Linked DNA regions of Homo sapiens: regions 2 and 3 are each linked to region 1. The links are contacts of gene promoters, found by promoter capture Hi-C in human tissues and cell types (Jung and others, 2019). All regions are on one chromosome and are shown on one strand. The core of a region is centred on a gene start or on the middle of the fragment in contact, and the rest is flanking DNA. Distances in the headings are between cores, read along the strand shown.

The links. Contacts are between HindIII fragments. The study calls those that stand out against the background at their distance.
Region 2: a contact is called between a fragment that was not itself captured here and the fragment with the promoter of CRYGB in region 1, in 1 of the 25 tissues and cell types used here (heart right ventricle).
Region 3: a fragment that was not itself captured here is called in contact with the fragment with the promoter of CRYGB in region 1 in 1 of the 25 tissues and cell types used here (H1 embryonic stem cells).

Annotation. Positions count from the first base shown.
Region 1 is chr2:208,144,652-208,147,558 of GRCh38, forward strand. CRYGB (crystallin gamma B) reads right to left here and starts at 1,507. Exons shown (of 3, transcript NM_005210.4): 1 at 1,461-1,507; 2 at 1,123-1,365. The coding sequence starts at 1,469. All of the region lies in intron 2 of LOC100507443 (a long non-coding RNA gene), which reads left to right. RefSeq lists an enhancer at 699-1,322. The HindIII fragment of the contact is 6,166 bases long and covers 1-2,907 here.
Region 2 is chr2:208,093,484-208,096,390 of GRCh38, forward strand. No RefSeq gene overlaps it. Among named protein-coding and RNA genes, the nearest start is that of CRYGD, 30 kb to the right of the region's middle. The HindIII fragment of the contact is 6,448 bases long and covers 1-2,907 here.
Region 3 is chr2:208,181,880-208,184,786 of GRCh38, forward strand. It overlaps C2orf80 (chromosome 2 open reading frame 80), which reads right to left. Exons shown (of 9, transcript NM_001099334.3): 4 at 1,086-1,168. Among named protein-coding and RNA genes, the nearest start is that of C2orf80, 6.7 kb to the right of the region's middle. The HindIII fragment of the contact is 7,429 bases long and covers 1-2,907 here.

The sequences.
Region 1 (2,907 bases), core at 257-2,756:
ATGATCTCAGCTCATTGCAACCTACCCTTCCCGGGTTCAAGCGATTCTCCTGCCTCAGCCTCCCAAGTAGCTGAGACTACAGGCGCGTGCCACCAAGCCCAGCTAATTTTTGTATTTTTAGTAGAGAGGGGGTTTCACCATATTGGCCAGGGTGGTCTTGAACTCCTGACCTCCTGACCTCGGCCTCCCAAAGTGCTGGGATTACAGGCGTGAGCCACCGCACCCAGCCTTCAGTTCAAATTTCAACCTATCTGACTTTTAAGCTTCCTTTCTAGCCTCCTGCTCTCAACTTATTTATTTCCCTCAGCAGCAAGTATCACCTTCATTAACTTCTGTTTTTATGACACTGTATCCCATGCCTCCCACACACCACAATTCTAAGAATTCTGCAGTCACTGCCCAGAAAATATGGAATCTCAAACTTTAGTTTCAGATTTGGCCTTTTCTCTAATTTATACCTCTAAGTGAGCTAATAGGTACTGACCATTAAATTAGAATAGAAATCAGAAGACAGGATCCTATCTTCTCAGGAGGAATAATCAAATAGAAAAGTAAGACAAAGCAAGCAAAAGTTTGTTGTTGTTGTTGTTGTTGTTGTTATTGTCGTTTTGAGATGGAGTCTCACTCTGTCACCAGGCTGGAGTGCAGTGGCACGATCTCGGCTCACTGCAACCTCCATCTCCCGGCTTCAAGCAAGCAATTCTCCTGCCCCAGCCGCCCGAGTAGCTGGGATTTAAGAATAATGTGATTAAATAGGCCGGATGCCGTGGTTCACACCTGTAATCCCAGCACTTTGGGAGGCCGAGGCGGGCGGATCACTTGAGGCCAGGAGTTCGAGATCAGCCTGGGCAACATGGTGCAACCTCGTCTCTACTATGAATACAAAAATTGGCTGGGCATGGTGGTGCATGCCTGTAATCCCAACTACTCAGGAGGCTGAGGCAGGGGAATTGCTTGAACCCGGGAGGCGGAAGTTGCAGTGAGCCGAGATCATGCCACTGCACTCCACCCTGGGGGACAGAGCGAGACTCCGCCTCAAAAAAAAAAAAAAAAAAAAAAAGAATATCATGAAATAGCTTTTATTTCCAAAAAGATGGAAGGCAAAGACAGAGCCACACTCACCGGGGGGATGAGGCAGCAGGAGCGGATGGAGTCGCTGAGGCCCATCCATTGCTGGTAGTCAGGGTACTCCCCACGCCGCAGGAAGTACTGGTGGCCCTGGTAGTTGGGGCGCTCATAGATCATCCAGCAGCCGCTCTCCACCCTGATGGAGTTGCAGCGGCTGAAATAGGGTTGTAGGTTGGGGCAGTCAGTGGTGCATTCGTAGCTGCGGCCCTGGAAGGCCCTGTCCTCGTAGAAGGTGATCTGAAAAATGGAAGATGTGGGAGCATGGAGTGATTGGCCCCCACTGAGGCCACTGCATTAGGGCCAAGGCTGAGCATCCGGTACCCAGGACTTACCTTTCCCATTTTGAAGGAAGTGAGCAGATGTTTTCTGGTTGCTGTGTGGGACTGCGGGAACGTCACTGTATGTATAGCAGCCCTGACTGCTGCCTCCACAGGAAATCACACAAAAGGGCCCATTTTGGTGAGTAAGGGGATTTGCAAGCTCGCTGCTCTCCGTGCCCAGGTCACTGGGGTTGGCTGAATGGTTTACTCTCATTCTTTCTGGTAGGTTCGGGTTGTTCTAATTCACTAAAGCTGTTGTTGCCATCAAAATGAATAGAGTACACTTTTAGTTGAGCAAAAGGATGGGCGAAATTCTGTCTCTGTGCTTTTATTTTATAGTTTACTCTGCTTAATTGACTTCTCAAAAGTCATTAAACTAAGTAATGAATTCTGCTCAGGGACTGGTGGTGTTTTTGTGTGTGTGTGTGTGTGTGTTTTAGTTCTAAAAGCCAGAATTTAAATAGTAAGGAATCTTAAAGAAGAGGGAATCAAGTGAAGTAATCTGTGAAAGTGTGTTAAAACCCATAAAGCTTAGTTCAAATTCAAAATTCTGTGATCAGCCAGGCGAGGTGGTGCACACCTATAATCCCAGGACTTTGGGAGGCTGAGGCAGGTGGATTGCTTGAGCTCAGGAGTTAGAGACCAGCCTAGGTAACATGGTGAGACCCCATCTCTACAACAAATACAAAAATTAGCCCTGCATGGTGGCGCATACCTGTAGTCCCAGCTATTTGGGAGGCTGAGGTGAGAGGATTGCTTAAGCTCAGGAGGTCGAGGTTGCAGTGAGCCATGATTGCACCACTGCACTCCAGCCTGGGCAACAGAGCAAGACCCTGTCGCAAAAAAAAAAAAAAAAAAATTCTGTGATCATCATTGTTGGTGTTTGGGGGCTTGTCTTGAATAAAACTGATACTTGCCTGGAATTTTGTAGGCTTCTGGGGGCTGGGTATTATTTCTTGTTCATGTCTATCCCTGAGCCCTAGAGCAGAGGGTTGGCACATTGCAGGTCCTCAATAATTGGCTCTGACCTGAGCAAAAACAGATAGTTGTGGCTTTCTTCCCCCTTTCAGATCTTCCTAAGGGCCTAAATCCCTCCTTCTGCTGGTGGCTGTCCAGAGTCCTGCCTGCTGTTTGGTGTTCCTGCTCTGCCTCAAATGTTACCACTAAGTGGCTGATTGGTCTTCTCAAGGCATGGGACCAAAAGGGCTCAGAGTTGGTCCCTATTGCTGGCAGATTGGACATTCTACAGTGGAAATAGCTGGATTAGCCTTAATAAGTAGAAGTTAATGCATAGCCTTCATCCATACCACTATGAACGCTCTCTTAGTGAGCTCACTGCCAGCAGTAGGGTGGCTGATGGCAGACGCTGACTGGAATCAAATGACCAAATCATTTTTTCTACTTGGTTGTTTAGTGCCTCTTCAATGGTGGATGCCCTACACTGGGCCTTCACATGGGA
Region 2 (2,907 bases), core at 119-2,618, 51 kb before region 1:
TTGAAAATGTTAAAAAAATTCATTATTTTTGAAAATATAAGGTGGAAAAATTTAATTAACAAATTTAATTGATCGATTTAAATTAATTAATTAATTAAAAATTATTTTTTAGAAGTGAGGTCTCACTTTTTTGACCAGGTTTGTCTCAAATACCCAGGCTCAATCAATCCTCCCACCTTGACCTCCCAATGTGCTGGTATTACAGGCGTGAGCCATCTAAGTTTCTAAGCCTGAAAAATTTCTAAGTTAAAAACTTGCAAGACTTGAAAAGAAGTGAGAGAAAGAATGAGGCTCATTCGAAAATGCAATTAGCAAATATTCTTGGGAGAAGACTCACTGAATTTCCAGTCCATATTTTCTGGCTTGTTTTCCTTAGGCAGGATAAAAATAATGACAGCTAAGTCCCTCCCTCCCTCCCTCCCTTCCTTCCTTCCTTCCTTCCTTCCTTCCTTTCGCAGGGTCTCGCTCTGTCACCCAGACTGGAGTGCAGTGGTTTCATCATAGCTCACTGCAACCTCCACCCCCTGTGCTCAAGTGATCTTCCTGCCTCAGCCTCCTGAGTAGGTGGGATTACAGGCACTCAACACCATGCCCGGTTAACTTTTTTTTTTTTTTTTTTTGAGACAGAGTCTCGCTCTGTCGCCCAGGCTGGAGTGCAGTGGCGCCATCTCAGCTCACTGCAAGCTCCGCCTCCTGAATTCACGCCATTCTCCTGCCTCAGCCTCCCGAGTAGCTGGGACTACAGGTGCCCGCCACCACACCTGGCTAATTTTTTGTATTTTTAGTAGAGACTGGGTTTCCCCGTTTTAGCCAGGATGGTCTTGATCTGCTGACCTCCTGATCTGCCCACCTTGGCCTCCCAAAGTGCTGGGATTACAGGTGTGAGCCACAGGCCTGGCCGCCCAGTTAACTTTTTTTTTTTTTTTTTTTTTTTTTTTTTTTTTTTTTTTTTTTTTTTGAGGCGGAGTCTCGCTCTGTCGCCCAGGCCGGACTGCGGACTGCAGTGGCGCAATCTCGGCTCACTGCAAGCTCTGCTTCCCGGGTTCACGCCATTCTCCTGCCTCAGCCTCCCGAGTAGCTGGGACTACAGGCGCCCGCCACCGCGCCCGGCTAATTTTTTGTATTTTTAGTAGAGACGGGGTTTCACCTTGTTAGCCAGGATGGTCTCGATCTCCTGACCTCGTGATCCACCCGCCTCGGCCTCCCAAAGTGCTGGGATTACAGGCGTGAGCCACCGCGCCCGGCCCAGTTAACTTTTTAAAGATTGTAGAGATAGAGTCTCAACATGTTGCCCAGGCTGGCCTTGAGCTCCTGCCCTCAAGCAATACTCCTGCTTCGGCATTCCAAAGTTCTAGGATTACAGGTGTGAGCCGCTCTACCCAGCCGGTTTTCTCTTGCTTTTCTTACAACTATGGGTATCAAAACCAGGGATATGAATTGTTGTTTTTAAGATTGCAGTGGGTATTTGTGGTGCTTTGAATCTAAATAAAAACTCAATTCTAACTGATGAAAAGGATAATAATATATTAACTAGACAATAATAAAATATACAATGTAGAATACAATACAATAGATATAACAACAGCCACAGAAACACATAGTGAGCACTTAAAAAATGTATATATTTATTTATTTTTGTAGAGGTGAGGTCTTACTATGTTGCCCAGGTTGGTCTTGAACTCCCAGTCTCAAACAATACTCCTACCTTGCCTCCCAAAGTGCTCAGATTACAGGCATCAGCCAGTGCACCCAGTCTATTGAGTATTTATTATATGCTAGGTCCTGTTCTAAATACTTAACATGCATTTCTTATTTGTCTTTCATAGCAACAATGTCAACCATCTTGTGTAATAAGGCTCAAAGAGGCTGTCTCACTAGCCCCTGGCCTCCTGGTTGGTTAGTGAGAAAAAAAGAATTCAAACGCAGGTTGGCCTGACTCTAGGAATCAATTACCAAACCTTATTGTCTAGATTTAATTTTTTTTAATTTTTATTTATTTATTATTTTTTGAGATGGAGTCTCGCTCTGTCACCCAGGCTGGATTCCAGTGGTGTGATCTCAGCTCACTGCAAACTCTGTCTCCTGGGTTCAAGCAATTCTCCTGCCTCAGCCTCCCAAGTAGCTGGGATTACAGGTGCCTGCCACTGCGCCCGGCTAATTTTTTTGTATTTTAGTAGAGATGGGGTTTCATCATGTTGGCCAGGCTGGTTTTGAACTCCTGACCTCAAGTGATCCACCCACCTCGGCCTCCCAAAGTGCTGGGATTACAAGCATGAGCCAGCGCGTCCGGCCCTGTTTGGAATTTAAATCCCTCCTGTATTCCTAATTGTACAGAAATTTAACTGAGGATGTTTTGCTTGTCCTGTGTGGTGATTTAAAGATGTTTAAGCAACATTAAAAATCAGTGTTGGGGTAGGTAATTGCCATTGAATGCACAGTTTTAGGTTTTCGCAAAAAGTGAGAAGATCTGGCTACCCTAAGCTCTTATTTCTCCAAAATGGGAGGCACAGGCTATGTCCAGCTGACCCCTATCAAGGAGCAGATACACTTGGAGTTGGCCCTGCTCTCTGCTAACACTCTTGTGGCTTCCTGGATTTCTTGCTTCCATCCTTCCTCTCATTTGTCAGTTCTTTGTCTTTAAGGAAACAGGCCCGATTGCATCAAGCCTGCTGAAAGGCTTCAGTGGTCCTCTATTACCTGAAAGTACTTAAAACCCTGATCTACCCACTTTCTAGTCTTCGCTGCCCTTCACCTCTATCCGCCCCTTATGTCTTGTACTCTAGCCATGCTGGGCTCCACACTGTCTGCTATGTACCATGCCCCACCATGCCTCCCTATGTTCATGTCTTTTTCATGCTGTTCTGGTGCCAACAATGTCCTCCTACTTTCTCAATTGTTAAATACCTA
Region 3 (2,907 bases), core at 218-2,717, 37 kb after region 1:
GGAGTCAGGAGGTAGATCCAGATGACATTGTTTGAGTTTTGAATTAAACCATGCCTAACACAGTCCTACCCATGGACTTTTCAGATACAAGGGCAATAAAATCTACTCCCCAGCTTTTTTGCTTAAGGCTGTTCAAATTGGATTTTCAATTGGATTTTCAAATTGGTCATTACAGCTAAACCCTAACTGTTACAACTCTCTAGGATCAGGTGTGTAGTCCAGAGCCATTGAGTAGAAAAAAAATAACAGGCCTCCAGAATAAGCTATTTGATCCTGTCCTCATTAGTTCTGTGTTCTTACCAATTGAGTGAGTCTGCCTGAACACTCCCTATACATGACAGAAAATGCTGGTAATCCCAGAAAGAAAATTATTCTGCGCTTCAAACAGCTCAGCTCAGATACATGTCTGCCTAAATGCTTAAGAATTTGTTTGGTAGTCCTTAGGAAAAGGTTACAGTCTTTACCCATAGAACTGACTGTTTTAAATCATGGCATGTACATAGTAAAGCAGTCATGTTTCTAAGACAGAGCATTCTTTATTTTTGAGATGGAGTCTCACTCTGTTGCCCAGGCTGGAGTGAAGTGGCACAATCTTGGCTCACTGCAACCTCTGCCTCCTGGGTTCAAGTGATTCTCCTCTCCTGCCTCAGCCTCCTGAGTACAGGTGTGCGCCACCACGCTAGGCGAATTTTTGTATTTTTAATAGAGGCGAGGTTTTACCATATTGTCCAGGTTGGTCTTGAACTCCTGGCTTCAAGTAATGAGTCTGCCTCAGCCTCCCAGAGTGCTGGGATTACAGGCCTGAGCCACCGCGCCCGGCCCCTTAAGACACAACATTCTGTGCAAGAAAGTCTTTCATCTCACTGAAGTCAATTAGTATAGAGATGCAAAACATGGAAACATGTAACTTCTTCAAGTTGGCAACTGTTCAGGTTCCTCAGGTGTCTCGTTGAAGAGGGATATTCACCCAGTAGTGTTTTCAAATCAAAGTGCCTCATGATGGAAGATGTTAGGGCTGGAACTTCCTCTATCATTAATCATAGGCACAAATTAAAGAGGAAAGCAACAAACCTACTTCAACTTACAGTTCCTCCCACTCCAGCCAAGTTAAGTCTTCTGAGGGATCCAGCCATTGCAAAGCAACACTGATGGCCAAGTCATAGTGTGCCTGGGAGCAGGAAGCACAGAGAGCAAAGAAACAGGCTTAGACATTGGCCGAAGTACTCCCTGGACCCAATGACAATGGGACTGCTAAGCCTATTCTAGTCTGTCATGTCCAAAATGGGAAGGATCATTAGCTTTAATAACCTGATGCTCGGCCAGATTTTTTTTTTTTTTTCTGAGACCTCGCCTCACAGGGATGAATCAGCCAGAAATATTTTGGGATCTTGAGACATTAAATTTATTTCCACTAGAGCAGTTATCTGATTTCTGTGATTTGGAAAAGAAAGGAGAGATCAGTGAAGAATAATAAACTTGGAATCAGAAAATCTGGGCTCAAATCTAGGTATTGCCAACAACTCACGGAATATTCTTAGGTGAGTAACTGATGCTTTCTGGGCCTCAGTTTCCCTAAATTTTAACATAGTAAAAGGTAAGGGTGGGGGAACAGGGCTGCAGGGAACAATTTCTGATTCTGTGAGTAGAATGTCAGAAATGTGCTTCCAGGGGTACAGGGGCAGTGTGGTGGGAATTTGGAGGGATGGGCCGTTTTATGTCTACCTGGGGAGATAGCTAGAATCCCAAGAAGCTTCAGAGAGGGAAGCTGCATTGGAGCTGGGGCTTGTGGGATGAGAATGTCTACAGATGGGGAAGGAAATCACAGGTAGAGGAACTAGCATGAGGCAAGGACGGAGCGGGCGGGGAAGGGGGCAGACCTGAGTAAGTGACTTGCTGAGAGTTTCACACGCACGTATAGTAAAAAGCTGAGAACCAATGCGGAGGCTTATTTTTATCATGGTGACCACCTTTTCCTAGTAATTCCTAAGAGTTCTTGTTCAGTAAGCATATTTACCATTTGTCTATCAAAATATTCCTTCTCTCCTTTCAGTCCCCACACACAGAAAACGGAAGATTGGTTTTGTTTTTAATTTTTGTAGAGGCGTTCTGAAGTTTTAACATTTTTAAACGGTGGAATTATTTCTTCCAGGGACTGAACCAAACTGAACAGTGAACCTAAATGAATAAATAAACAGGAAGAATGGGACCATGACCAAATGTTGCAACCGGATCCAAAGTTTGATGCCTTGGCATCACTTGTTTGGTCATTTGAAATGCAAATTCCTAGGCCGCGGGGGCGCCCCCCTCACCCCCGCCCCCCTTCACCTCCTGAATCAAAACAGCCTTGTAATACGACCTCATTAAAGTTTGAGAAGCACTGCTCTAATCTACTTAATTTCTCTGTTTAATATGTGTACACAGAGAATAAGGCTTAACTATTTCCTTAGCTCCAGGGTAGTTTTGAAAGCCAGTGAGCCTGGCTCTACTTTAGTCGGAGAAGAAGAGGAGAGGGGAGTGGAGGGAGAGAGTCTTTTTTATTAGTGTAAGGATAGTAAATGGGCAGTGAAAAAACTGAGGGTTTGCTAATTTCTTTTGAGTTAGATCTTTATATGGTTTCTTCCTCAATTTCTGTGACGTGAACTTTCAGATCCTGAGTCTGGGCTTCGAAATAAATAACACCAAGGATTTTTAGGGTTACTTAATTTATTTGGTTTTCTCTCACTAATGCAAATGGTAAAGAAATTATTTTGAGAACTACATGATAGCTAATTTTGTCAAACTCTTAACTCCACAGACGTAACATTTTGCCTGGCATTAATTTTGATTTTTAATCTTCTTTCCTAATAGCAAATAACTCTCATGATTTTTATTTTCTCATTCTCTTTGCTTTCTGGTTAGTGGGTTGAA